Regions from separate parts of the Homo sapiens genome. Here regions 1, 2 and 4 are each linked to region 3. Evidence: promoter capture Hi-C in 16 types of primary human blood cells and fetal thymus (Javierre and others, 2016). All regions are on one chromosome and are shown on one strand. The core of a region is centred on a gene start or on the middle of the fragment in contact, and the rest is flanking DNA. Distances in the headings are between cores, read along the strand shown. Region 1 has its middle 7.2 kb from the start of LINC02004. Region 2 has its middle 24 kb from the start of LINC02004. Region 3 holds the start of KY (kyphoscoliosis peptidase). Region 4 has its middle 3.8 kb from the start of RYK.

Region 1 (2,957 bases), core at 155-2,654, 340 kb before region 3:
AGGGCATTTTAAATTCTGATTTTTTTTCTCACCAATTTGCCTTGCGCAAACTCAGCACCATTGCATTCTCAGTAACAGATTATCAAAGTGCTGATTCTCCATTTACTTATTAATATTGGGTAATTTCAAGGTTTCAAAGTTTTACCCATCTGGGTAGGTGAAAACATCGGTGTTTTAATATGCATTTTTTTTTTTAGCTGTGTGTGTGGCTTATATTATTCCCTGTGTTTATTGGTCATCAGTGTTGGTATTTGTTTGTTTTTCTTGATTTCCCTATTCATATTCTCACCTTCAATGGATCCTTTTCTCTGATCATCTGTGTCTTTCTTTGCCTTAGGAAAATGTCTTTTGGTTACTTCCTCAGTTGTTTCCTCCCCTCCTGGATCCAGACATCTGGGTCTAGATTTATTTTCATGTTATTTTATTTTATCCTATGTTTTCCATCTCTCAGTCTTTACACTCTGCCTTAAAGGAGATATTTTTCAACATTATCTCCCAGACATTCGGCTCTCTTTTCAAAAATTCTAGATTATTATTTTTGAAAATCAAAGTAGTACATGAGGATTGTTTTATGAGCAAAATATAGCTTATATAGTTTATAGTAAAAATCACACTGTCCCACAATTTCTTATTCCTGTTCCTCTCCCTAAACTTTTTTTTTTCTTTTTTTTTTTTTGAGTTGGAGTCTTGCTCTGTTGCCCAGGCCGGAAAGCAGTGGTGCTATCTTGGCTCACTACACCTCCGCCTCCTTAGTTCAAGCGATTCTCCTGCCTTAGCCTCCCAAGTAGCTGGGACCACATGCGTGTGCCACCACACCTGGCTAATTTTTGTATTTTTAGTAGAGACGGGGTTTTACCATGTTGGCCAGGCTAGTCTCAAACTCCTGACCCCAGGTGATCCACCTGTCTCAGTCTCCCAAAGTGCTGGGATTACAGGCGTGAGCCACTGTGCCCAGCCTCCCTAAACTTTTAAACTGTTATTTTCCTGGTACTTACTGCCGTACTTCTCAACTCTAGATGTTATCTTTTGATTTCCTATCATTGGAAGACAAAGATTCAGTGATAACACCACCACCATGTCCCTACTATCATTTTCTGCATCCTGCTATGATAGTTATGTCCCAACTTTTTGTTAAATTGTTACTATTTTTTGGATAAACATGTGAGCTCAATTCATGGTTGAGTCCAAAAGTCCATTATGATTATGTCTCCCTTTATTTTTTCCTGGAGTTAATAGTTGTTTGTTTATTTATTGATTTGTCGCTTAGTTTTTATGTACCTTCTAAACCCTCCTAATGGAAGTGAAAAACACTTTTGAATTTGGAAGAGCCCTTGTCCGTGAACTGGCTCCTTCCTTTGTTTCTCTCCTTCTTGAGGTACAAGGACAGAGCCAAGAAAGACTGATTAGAGTGTTAGGCAGACAAGAGAGTCAGGAAAAGGGTGGAATGTTTCCAGGTGCCTGACAAGGAAAAGGGAAAACAGATCCACAGGGATCTAGGGAGCTGGAGCTTTTGAAATCAGTTGTTTGACCTCAGAATGTCTCTACAGAAACAGCGTTTTCCATGGTGGGTGGTTCCCAGCTCGTCTCCTACTCCAACTCACTCCCAAGCTGAACAGCTGTACAGGACCTTTCCAGAAAAGTTGTAAGACTGGGCCGGGTGCGGAGGATCATGCCTGTAATCCCAGCACTTTGGGAAGCCAAGGCGGGCAGATTGCCTGAGATCAGGAGTTCGAGACCAGCCTGGCCAATGTGGTGAAACCCCATCTTTACTAAAAATACAAAAATTAACTGGGCGTAGTGGCATGCACCTGTAGTGCCAGCTACTCGGAAGGCTGAGGCAGGAGACTCTCTTGAACCCGGGAGGTGAATGTTGCAATGAGCGGAGATCACGCCACTGCACTCCAGCCTGGGTGACAGAATAAGACTCAAAAAAAGACTGTAGCAGTGTTGTTTTCCAAGTTTGCAAGAAAGTAGAAACATTGAAGCAGCAACAATTTTGCATTTACCTTGAATGGCAGTGCTGGAGGCAGAGGGAGTATTAATGTTTTGTGCTTGGTGGAGATAGCAGTGGGCCAAAGACAAGCCCTGCATCCCCCTAGAGGTGAATATGGGTGAGATGGACAGAAGAGAAAAAGAATCCAAGGGGGAAAGGAGATTATGAGAAAGGAGAAGCCTCAACTGGGCAGAAGCCCTTCCCTGACCTTAGTACCCAGCCTTCTCCACCCCTGATTTTGCTAACCCTGCCCAGCACATAGTAGGTGTTTAATAAGTAATATAAGTAATAGGCTCTGTGAGGTCAGGGCACTTCTCAAGGGTGTGAGGATGAATATCCACAAGTCAGAAGTCTGTAATTTAGGGGTGGTTGGGAAGCACAGCAACAAATGTTTCACGTATTTTGATCTTTCAATTCACCTGTGCAGATGCGTAAATTCTTCTGGATTGCGGAAGAACTGATTGTTCCCTAAGGGCCCTGTTTGGGGTTGGCAGATCTTGCGTACCTCTTCTGGGCCACCAGACCCTCTCTTTCTTCATCACCAAACCCAGGAAGGGCTCATATCCCGTTCTGCAGGTGTGGGTAGGAGAAAGCTGGGGGAACACCCAGGGGTTACTAGCTTTTAACAAAACCACATTTTAGTTGGCTGGAATCCTAGTCATGAGCAGGGATGATTACAGAGGGCTCACCTCACACCTTGTCCTGGCTTCAAATGGACTGAGTGGGCCCAAGCATGTTCCAGAGAGCTTAGTGGTGATGCAACTCCCGCAGGCCACCAGAGCACAGAAATCCTTACTCTGCCTGGGCCTGGCTTTGTGTGTTTTCAGTTGTTCTGTCCTGGTGGCTTTGGGGAATACAATTCTTAGTCCTCAGAACACCAGCCTACACTAACTCTGCTGTTTAACACTTGCCTCTGTTTGAATGTTTTGTGATAGTTGTTTGCTAAAGTTTGTTAACCTTGCCT
Region 2 (3,039 bases), core at 162-2,661, 360 kb before region 3:
TGGCATTCCTCCTACCTCAATGATGGCTGCTCCTCAGCCTCATTTGCTGGTTTCTCCTTCTTACCTGACCTATAAGTATTGATTAGCCCCAGAGCTCAGCTCTGTGCCCTCTCCATTTTTCTGTCTATATTGTCTCCATAAGTGACCTCATCCAAATTTGTATCTCTTGCTCAACTCCTTCTACCCGAGCTCCAGATTTGCCTTCAGGAATGCCTTTGTGACAACTCTACTTGTGTCCTCAATAAGTAGCTCAAGCTTAATATGGTTCAAAGTCAAACGGTTTCCCTTGAATCCTGTTTCTCCTCACTATTCCTCACCTTGATAAATGTACTCTTTGCCATTACTATAACCACATTCAGTCTCTTCCCTTTTGCTCTCCTTCTCTTTCTAATCCATTAGCAAGTCCCATCTTTTCTATCCAGAAAACATATCCTTAATTCCTCCCACTCCCCCACTTCTCCAACTCCATCCTCTCTGTGGAGTGCTTGCCCCTGACTCCCCACTGCACACCACCTAACAACATGCACAGACATATACAGTCATGCACACACCTTCTCCCAGTCTCTCTCCTCACTCCATCTTGATTCTCCATCGCTTTGCCTTTATAGCTTTCATACCATTCTGTAATTGCATTATCTACCTCTTGACTGACTTCTTGACGTTCCCTCTCCCAAAGGCCAGGACTAGGGTGAGTTGAGAATGGCACTTGTCTCAGATGTAAAACTTAAGGGGGTTCCAAAAATACTCAGTAATCAAGATAAGCAAATTTTAATGCAATATACTAAAAAGTCAAAGTGCAAAAAACTTCCTGATGAGCAAACCAAATTCTAAGATCACTTAGTTTTATTTTATTCATACATTCTTCAGTATATATCTCTACAGATAAGAACAACAAAAAAGCAACCACAATTCCATTATTACATCTAATAAAATCAATATAATTCCTGAATATCATTTTACATTTAATTCATTTTCCTTTTCTCCCACCTCAGCCTCCCAAGTAACTGGTACTATAGGCTTGTGCCACCACGATTAAATTCTCTGAGATTTACTAGATTTTATTTATCCCTATATCTCATGACTACGTTTAGAATAAAATTTGTATTGGTGACTAAAAATATGTATTAGCATTCTCTATATATTAGCAGTAAGCCATCTCTCCACCTTCACTTAAACAGACAGACCAGGTGCAGTGGCTTACACCTGTAATCCCAGAACTTTGAGAGGCTGAGGCAGGTGGATCACGAGGTCAGGAGTTCGAGACCAGCCTGGCCAGCATGGTGAAACCCCGTCTCTACTAAAAACAAAAAAATTAGCTGGGCATTGTGGTGCATACCTGTAATTCCAGATACTTGGGAGGCTGAGGCAAGAGAATAGCTTGAAACTGGGAGGTGGAGGTTGCAGTGAGCTGAGACCACGCCACTGCACTCTGCACTCTAGCCTGGGTGACAGTGCAAGACTCTGCCTCAAAACAAAACAAAACAAAACAAAACAAAAACCAAAAACCAAAAACCAAACCAAACAAACAAAAAAACCCAAACAGACAAAAAAAAAAAAAAATCAAAGTAAGTGTTTGTTCTTTGTAATGAACTACCTGGCCTATACACCTCTTGGGTCCATCCCCTACTCAATCTTCATTTTAAAAGGGTTTCTGTGGACTGCAGCTACATAGCCTTCTTAATGCAGAAAACTGAATGTACCTGATGATGCAAATCACAGTATTAGTCTGTAACATAAACTGCCATTCGCTGTTATAGACAGCTCAAGAAAAAGAAAACCTCATGAATCCGGAAACAAAGGCCCCTGCCCTAACCACCCCCATACCCTCCAACAACTGTCAACCCTGTAGATGTTACACTCAAAAAAACAAACAAAAAAAGAAGGGCCAGCATGGTGGCTCACGCCTATAATCCCATCATTTTGGGAGGCCTAGGCTGGTGGATCACTTGAGGTCAGGAGTTCAAGACTGGCCTGGGCAACATGGCGAAACCCTGTCTCTACTAAAAATATAAAAATTAGCCAGGCGTGGTGATACATGCCTGTACTCCCAGCTACTTGGGAGGCTGAGGTACAAGAATTCCTTGAACCCAGGAGGCAGAGGTTGCAATGAGCTGAGATTGTGCCACTGCACTCCAGCCCGGATAACAACACGAGACCCTGTCTCAAAAATAAAATAAGGATTTTAGCAGTTGGACTTCATTCTGTGTCCTCTGAAGAGGACCTGATGGAAAAGAGGTTATTCAAATGGGCCATTTCCAACCCTGTCTATACTTTAGAAACACTAAGGGTTCAAGAGAACTAAACAAAAATTCTATTTCAGGCCCACCCCAGTCCTCACATGCCCCAAGATACTTTTGGACAAACTTCACTTTTATTTGTTTATTTATTTGGCTTAAGGAATTGCAGGAAGTCTTATACTTCCTACTTTTTGGAAAAATAAATGCCATAATTCTAAACTAAGTTTTATTTGGATTGCAGATTTAAGTGTCAAAAAAACAAACTACGGAAGACAAAGGGAAGAAAATAGAAGCAAATATTAATCAAATTTCAGGACAGGAAATATATTTGTAAGCTTTGAAGTGAAAACCAAAAAGAAAGAAAAACAAAAGAAAAAAGGAAGAAACCACAAAAGAAAAGACCGATGAATTTGAGTAAATACAAATTTAAAACTTCTTCACTACAACAAAAACGATGGAAATAAAATAACCAAAATGAAAAAGCAGAGACCAGAATGAGGATGATGAGGTGGAGACACAAGGCTGCTGTTACCACAGACAGAATAGTAACATCTTTGTTACATAAAGAATTTATAAAAATTGGTTTAAGAAATTAAGGCTTGAGTAAGTAAGTAAGCCAGCATCTGTGCTCACAAATTACACAAGTGGAAACATTGTTATAAACAAACGTGGCAAAAGATTAAAGCCTGCTATAATCACATAAATACAAATTAAAACAAAGAAAAAATATGATTTTTGCTCATCAGAATGGCAAAATCTAAAATAATCACTTCTAATCTTGGTGACAATGCAAGGGACAGAT
Region 3 (3,186 bases), core at 389-2,888:
AGTGATGTGATCAGAGAGGATTGGGAGTAGGGGACTCGTGGGCTGACCTGGAACTAGGCCTCGCCACACACTGGAGAAGGCATTCTGGACTGTGGTACATGTATTCAGAGCAGTCTCATTTCTATCAAGAAGTTGATGCCCTCTGTTGACTTTCTAACTACAAATACCCTGGGCAGGCCATTTCCCCTTCTCCCAAGAGTAGGTCTGATAACTAAAGAGCCAACGAATCCAAACAACTCCTGCTTCAGTCAGGAATCAGCCCTGAGACTAGAGCGCCTGTCAACATACTCAGCCCTCTAGATTCTGTTTCTTTCCCCTGCCTGCCTTCCCAAGAGGTTCCCAGGGCTCTGGAGGCAGCTCCAGCCTATGTGGCTGGTAGTGGCAAGGCCATCCACAGCAGCATTACTTAAGCAAGGCAGGTGGAAGGTGGATGTTCAATGAGCACAGAGGCTCTGGGGACAGAAGAACCAAGGGCAGAGCAGCAGCAGGAATTCCAAGGAGCTCCAGAGCTGGAGGGGAGGAGAGAGGCAGAAGTCATTCTCCTGCATGGGCTGTCAGGCCTAACTCCTAAAGAACTGGCCCGCAGTCCGCCTAGTGCATCCTCACACCAGCCTCGGAGACAGCTTGCCATCCAGGACCCTGAGGTTCTCTGGCTTTTCAGGGGCTTATTTAACCTCCATTATCATCCCTCTGTACTCCATTCACATTGTGTTCTGTCGTCTGGAGAACAGAGAGGCCCGGATCCTGCTTTCCACAATCACTCTATAAACAGTCACTTTATTTTACCAATCTACAACTTACAAATTTACCCAGAAAGTGTGTAGGACAAGTAAAATTGATGGATAAGTTCAAGTGGAGACAGCAGGTTTCAAATCTTACCCTATCCAAACCTGCGTTCCTTTTACGCCTTTCATGCCTTCCATCTATAGGAGGCTGGGAGAAAGTCTCAAGAAAGGAGAAACTGAGGCTGTAAATTGTGCAAGGCCACACAGGGAGCTCCCCATCTAAAAGTCTGACTCAGCCCAAAGGTTTCCCAGCGTCCCCTGTGCCCTGCAGTGTGCTGTGGGGGGGAGCAGGCCTCTGCTACCCATGAGTCAGCCCTGAGGCTCTGGCCGCCTTCCTCCAGGGTATCTTCCAATCTTGCTCTACACCCGTTAGGGAGTGGCTGGGAGGAAAAAGACTCCCAGGGGTGACGGAAGCACCCACAGGCCTGCACAGGGAGTGAAACTGGGGCAATCACGGGGCTGCGCGTTGCCACGGGACTGCGCGTTGCCACGGGACGCCGGTGCCACTGCGGGGAAGCGACGGCAGCCATGGGGGAGAGGGTCGGGTTCGCTGACCTCGTTCGGGGGAGCAATGGGCGCCCCCCGGCGGGCAGGCCCTTGTGGCAAGGAGGCCAAGGTGCCGGGGGACCCGGGGACCCGGGTCGGGCGCGCGTTACCTCCTCCGCGCTGCAGCAGCGAGCTCGGGTTCGCCTGCTGGTCTGAGAGCGTACCCTGTGCGGCGCGCCGCTTCTCCGAGTGCACGATCAGCAGCATGTCGATAGATACAGCGTTGATGTCCTTCTTCAGCTCCATGATGCCGCCTCCTTTCCGACCTGGGCGCCGCGGCCGCACGCTAGGCTGCTTGCGCTGCAAATGGCCCCGTGCGCGCAGCTGCCCCACACGGGAGAGGGCGAGGGCGCGGAAGAGGGCGCTCCCCCGCCGCTGGAGCCGCAGGGCGCTGCTTTTCGCTGACTCTGCCAAACACGCCATTAGGGCCCGCCTGGGAGGGCGCTACCCTAATGAAGCGGCTCTAAGTCACCTTTGAAAGGAAATCCCCGGGCCCAAGCCTTGACCTGCACCGGGGCCATAGTCAGCAGGGGCGGCCGGTCCAGAGCCTCCCTCCCTGCGCCCCTGCCTCCCGCCCGGTGCACTTGAAGCGCTGGTCCTGGGCTCCAGGGCTTCTCTGGCTGAGCGCTGCCTCATCCCCACGGTCTCCGGAGGGTTCTCGAGAGGGCTGGAGCCGACCTCCCACGAGAAGCCCCTGGCAAATACAGAAATCGCACAGTGCTGTCAACATTGAGAGTAGATTCAGGAAAAGGAAAGACAGCAAAGGGGCTCCAGATTGAATTGCAAGATGTGCAGAGATTGTCCAAGTTTTGGCCTCGACCTCACTCCTTCCCTGGGTTGGTTTTGGAGGTTGACAGCTCTCTCTCCCTAGGAGGGAGTTGGGTGGGGTGTTGGAGTCAGGAGCTCCCCCCAGTTACGGCCCCTGTAGAACTTGGAACATGCCCATTGAGTATCAAGCTAACGATCCTCTTTGATCTGAAACGAAAGTCTTAAAGTCTCGGTTCGTTCTAGAAGCCTGGCTCCTGCCCTGTGGGGAAGGAGGGAGGGGGAGAGGAGGAGGCTGGGGCACAGGGAGCTGGACCTGAGAAGCCTTCTATTTTTAGCCCGGCCTGGCCTGCCCAGCCAACAGCAGCAGGGGTTTGGCTGTAGGTCTCAGGAGTGTTTACATAGGCTTCTGCCTGGTACCCCTGGGCACTACGGGCCCACCCTGCTGGGGGCGTTCCCCTAATTCGAGTTTCTACTGTTAATAAATGCACCCCCACATGGAGGCCTTTGCTCTGGGAGCCCTCCCCGCATTGGAGTGTATGGACCCCACCTTGTAGCATGGTCCTGAGAGTTCCCAGATCCTCCTTGGAGCAGCCTGTGTCACACAGACTGCATTCCAGTACCAGCTCCATCACTTCCTGGCTGTGTGACCTTGGACCAGCCATTTTCCCTCCACCTTCTCACCCTTATCACTGGGTTGATAAAAATTTCTCACATGGCTGTTGTGAGAATGGCATGAATGTAAGGCGCCTGGTGTATAGAAAGTGGTCTTCATATGGTAGCTGTCATTCTTACTTCATTTTAAGGGTGAGGAAAGGGAAAGATGGAGTGACAAGTGACTGATGGAGCAGAGAAGCAGGAGAGATGTCACAGCCACACTCTGAGATTCTGAAGGTCTTCCTCCAATAACAGTGGCTCAGAGTTTGGTTCCGTGTAAAGGCTGTTGTCTTATTGCATTACCAGCGCCCCCCCCCACCACCCCACCCCCTGACTCACCCACTGGGCATCTGATGGAAGGAGAGGTTGTTGGCTTCCAGTAATGTTGAACTGGAGTCCCTAGAGAGCTGAGGCCATAGACAGGCAAGTGGAG
Region 4 (2,946 bases), core at 366-2,865, 400 kb before region 3:
TTTCATAAATTCTACAAAGACAAGTTCTCAAAGTGTGGCCCCCAGACCAGCAGTATCATCACCTGGGAACTTGTAATGTAAATTCCTTGGACACTGCCCATACTAACAGGTAGCAGCTCCAGGGCTGGGGCCCAACAATCTGTTTTCCCAAGCCTCCTGGTAATTCTGATGCTGCTGGTCACTCCATTAATATCTCAGCTCTCCTGTCTCTCTTTTGGTCAGCTGCAGTTGCCTGCTTTCTCCCTTACTCGCTCAGTCTGTTCCCAACACAGCAGACAGAGGCATTCTGTTAAACGTCAGCCTGATCATGTACTCTCTGGCTTTCAGACCACCAGTGGTTCCCCAACTCACCTAGAATAAAAGGCAAAGTCTTTCCAAGATGTCAAGGTAGTTCTCACTCTCCACCTTTCTCCCTTCCCTCTGACCTTATCTTCTGCTCACCGCCTACTCCCTTAGTTCCTGCCACACCACAAAGGCTTCCTTTCTGTTCTTCCAACAAACCAGACACAATCCTACCTCAGGGCCTTTGCACTGCTGTTCCCTGTCTCTGGAATGCTTCTGTCTGACACCCACATGGCTTCATCTCTTACCTCCTTCAAATCTATGCTCAGATGTTAACTTCTGAATAAGATTGCAAACTTCCCCACACTTTAATTAAACCCTTGGAGAAGGAATTGATTCCCAGTCTCTCTCTTGCTGTCTCTGCATGACACTTGGTCTCACACAAAGGTCTTCCCACAATCCCCAGCCCATCCTGAAGAGGAAGTTTCCTCTCCCTCCCCTAACAAGGTGTGGGTGGCAACTTCTGAAATTTCCCAAAAAGCCTCAGCATGAAAATGAGAAACCATGACCACAGCCTCCTGAGGTTTCTTTGCCTTGGGGAAATGAAAGCCACAGTCATCAACACAATCCACACATTGGCCCTCCACTCTTGGTTTTGTTTGTCACAGTGGTTGACCTTATTCTCCTCCTCCAGGAGACATATTTCAGCATGGCCAGGAAATACCATCAGCAGGACTTGTACTTTAAAAAGCCAGTCTTGGACTTGAGATGCCATGGGGTAGATGGGTAGATGGGAGCGTGGGGTCAAAGCTACACAGAGATGATGGGTGTTCCATGTTTGACCTCTGGTGTGGGCTGAGAATACCTGGTGCCCGCAAGGACAGACACCCAGAGACAACTCAGCAACATGGACCTGACCCAACCACTCAGCTGGGTGGGGGTGGGTGGTTGGAGAAGGGGTGGCTCCAAGTCCTGAAATCAGCCTCGTCTTTTGCCAGGAGCAGTTGGGAATGTGGCTCTCTCTATAAACCTTCTCCTTCCACAAGTAATATATTAAACCATTTGCACTGTAAAAGAGTCAAGCAGCACAGAAGTATGTGAAATAAAATATAAATATGTCCCTCCACACACACCCTCGTCTCTCTTACCCACTGCCCAGTTTGATGTATGTTCTGAGAGCCCTTTCTCTAGGCAGTTACTCACACATATATGGGTTTAAACACACAATTGTATGTGTGTGCTCTTTTTCAGCCTTATAGAAATGGACAACACAACAAAAAGTTGTGATCTACAGGATTTGCTTTTTTGACTGATCTAAGTAAGTTGAGATCTCGAGGATGTTCTCATGACAGGGCATACAGAGGCATCCCTGTGGTGTTCTTTTGGTTGGGATGAACTGATGGATTTTACCAGTTCTGGTAATACACATCAAATCCTTGCACATACATCTTTGTGCATATGTATAAATATTTAGAAGAACAGATTCTCTGAAATGGAATCTTCAAGTCCAAAGGAGTTATGTTTTAATTTTGATAGATTCTGCTGAATTGCCTTCCAAAAGATTTTACAAATATACATTTCCAAATGTGGCATAAATGAGAGACACAAGGTAATAGGCCAATGTTTTTCATTTTGCTGTTGACAGTCTAGTGAAAGAAAAATAGCTTATTGTTGTTTAATCTGCATTGCCCTCATCACTAGTGCGGTTAAGTATCTCATATACTTATTGCATATTCAAATTACTCTTTGAAATATCTGCCCACATATTCTATTTTTTAGTTAGCTTATTTGTCTTCTTATTGATTTATGGATGTTTTCTTTTACTGTATCCCTTGTCATTTAACTTTTCTTATGATGTTCTTTACTTAACTTAAATTTTGGATTTCTATTTTAGATAAATCTGACAATCTTTTCCTTTATGGCTTCCGCATTTTGTGTCTTTCAAAGGTCCCCCAATTAATACTTTTTGTATTTTGTACTTTTTTCTCTTAAAAAATAGCTCCTTAATCTATCTGGAATTTATGTTTATGTATGGCACATGATACAATTTTATTTTTTCCATATGGTTAACCATTTGTACCAAACACTAGTTATTACATTTACTGAATGTTCCTTAGTGGCCATATCTAACTTTAAACAAAACAGGAATTTCAGCCTGCTTTCACTTCCCTCTTTCTTCACATACCTTTCACATTGAGATCATGTAGTTCTACACTGGCCAGTATAGTAGGCACTAGCCACATGTGGCTATAAAGTACTTCAAATGTGGCTGGTAGGAATTGAGATGTGCTGTAAGTGCAAAGTACATGCCAGATATTGAAGACTTGGTATTAAAAAAAAAAAGAATGTAAAATATTTCATTGATAATTTTTATATTGGTTGAATGTTAGAGTGGTAATATTTTAGATATATTGTGTTAAAATATATTATTAAAATGTATTTCATATGTTTCTTTTACCTTTTTTGACTTTACTAGAAAATTATGTTTATGGCCTGACATTTCTATTGGGCAGTGCTGATCTAGATATTAGTTCCAGGTTGTTCAGCATTTCATTTTAAAAATTACATTTTTCATAGCACTTTAAACAATTGACAAATGGCATTAGCTACAGTAACTGAAACTAAAATAGGCAAGTGATCCTATGAGAAGTCACAGTATTATAG

The links. Contacts are between HindIII fragments. The CHiCAGO score rates a contact against its expected background, and 5 or more counts as called.
Region 1: a fragment that was not itself captured here is called in contact with the fragment with the promoter of KY in region 3 in 1 of 17 cell types (neutrophils); the score reaches 6.0 in neutrophils.
Region 2: a fragment that was not itself captured here is called in contact with the fragment with the promoter of KY in region 3 in 1 of 17 cell types (neutrophils); the score reaches 7.3 in neutrophils.
Region 4: a contact is called between a fragment that was not itself captured here and the fragment with the promoter of KY in region 3, in 1 of 17 cell types (neutrophils). The highest score is 5.3, in neutrophils.

What each region holds. Positions count from the first base shown.
Region 1 is chr3:134,304,920-134,307,876 of GRCh38, forward strand. No RefSeq gene overlaps it. Among named protein-coding and RNA genes, the nearest start is that of LINC02004, 7.2 kb to the right of the region's middle. The HindIII fragment of the contact is 5,144 bases long and covers 1-2,957 here.
Region 2 is chr3:134,287,806-134,290,844 of GRCh38, forward strand. No RefSeq gene overlaps it. Among named protein-coding and RNA genes, the nearest start is that of LINC02004, 24 kb to the right of the region's middle. The HindIII fragment of the contact is 2,317 bases long and covers 254-2,570 here.
Region 3 is chr3:134,649,384-134,652,569 of GRCh38, forward strand. KY (kyphoscoliosis peptidase) reads right to left here and starts at 1,639. Exons shown (of 11, transcript NM_178554.6): 1 at 1,442-1,639. The coding sequence starts at 1,577. It also overlaps a transcript of CEP63 not described here. The HindIII fragment of the contact is 8,919 bases long and covers 1-3,186 here.
Region 4 is chr3:134,253,147-134,256,092 of GRCh38, forward strand. No RefSeq gene overlaps it. Among named protein-coding and RNA genes, the nearest start is that of RYK, 3.8 kb to the left of the region's middle. The HindIII fragment of the contact is 4,822 bases long and covers 1-2,946 here.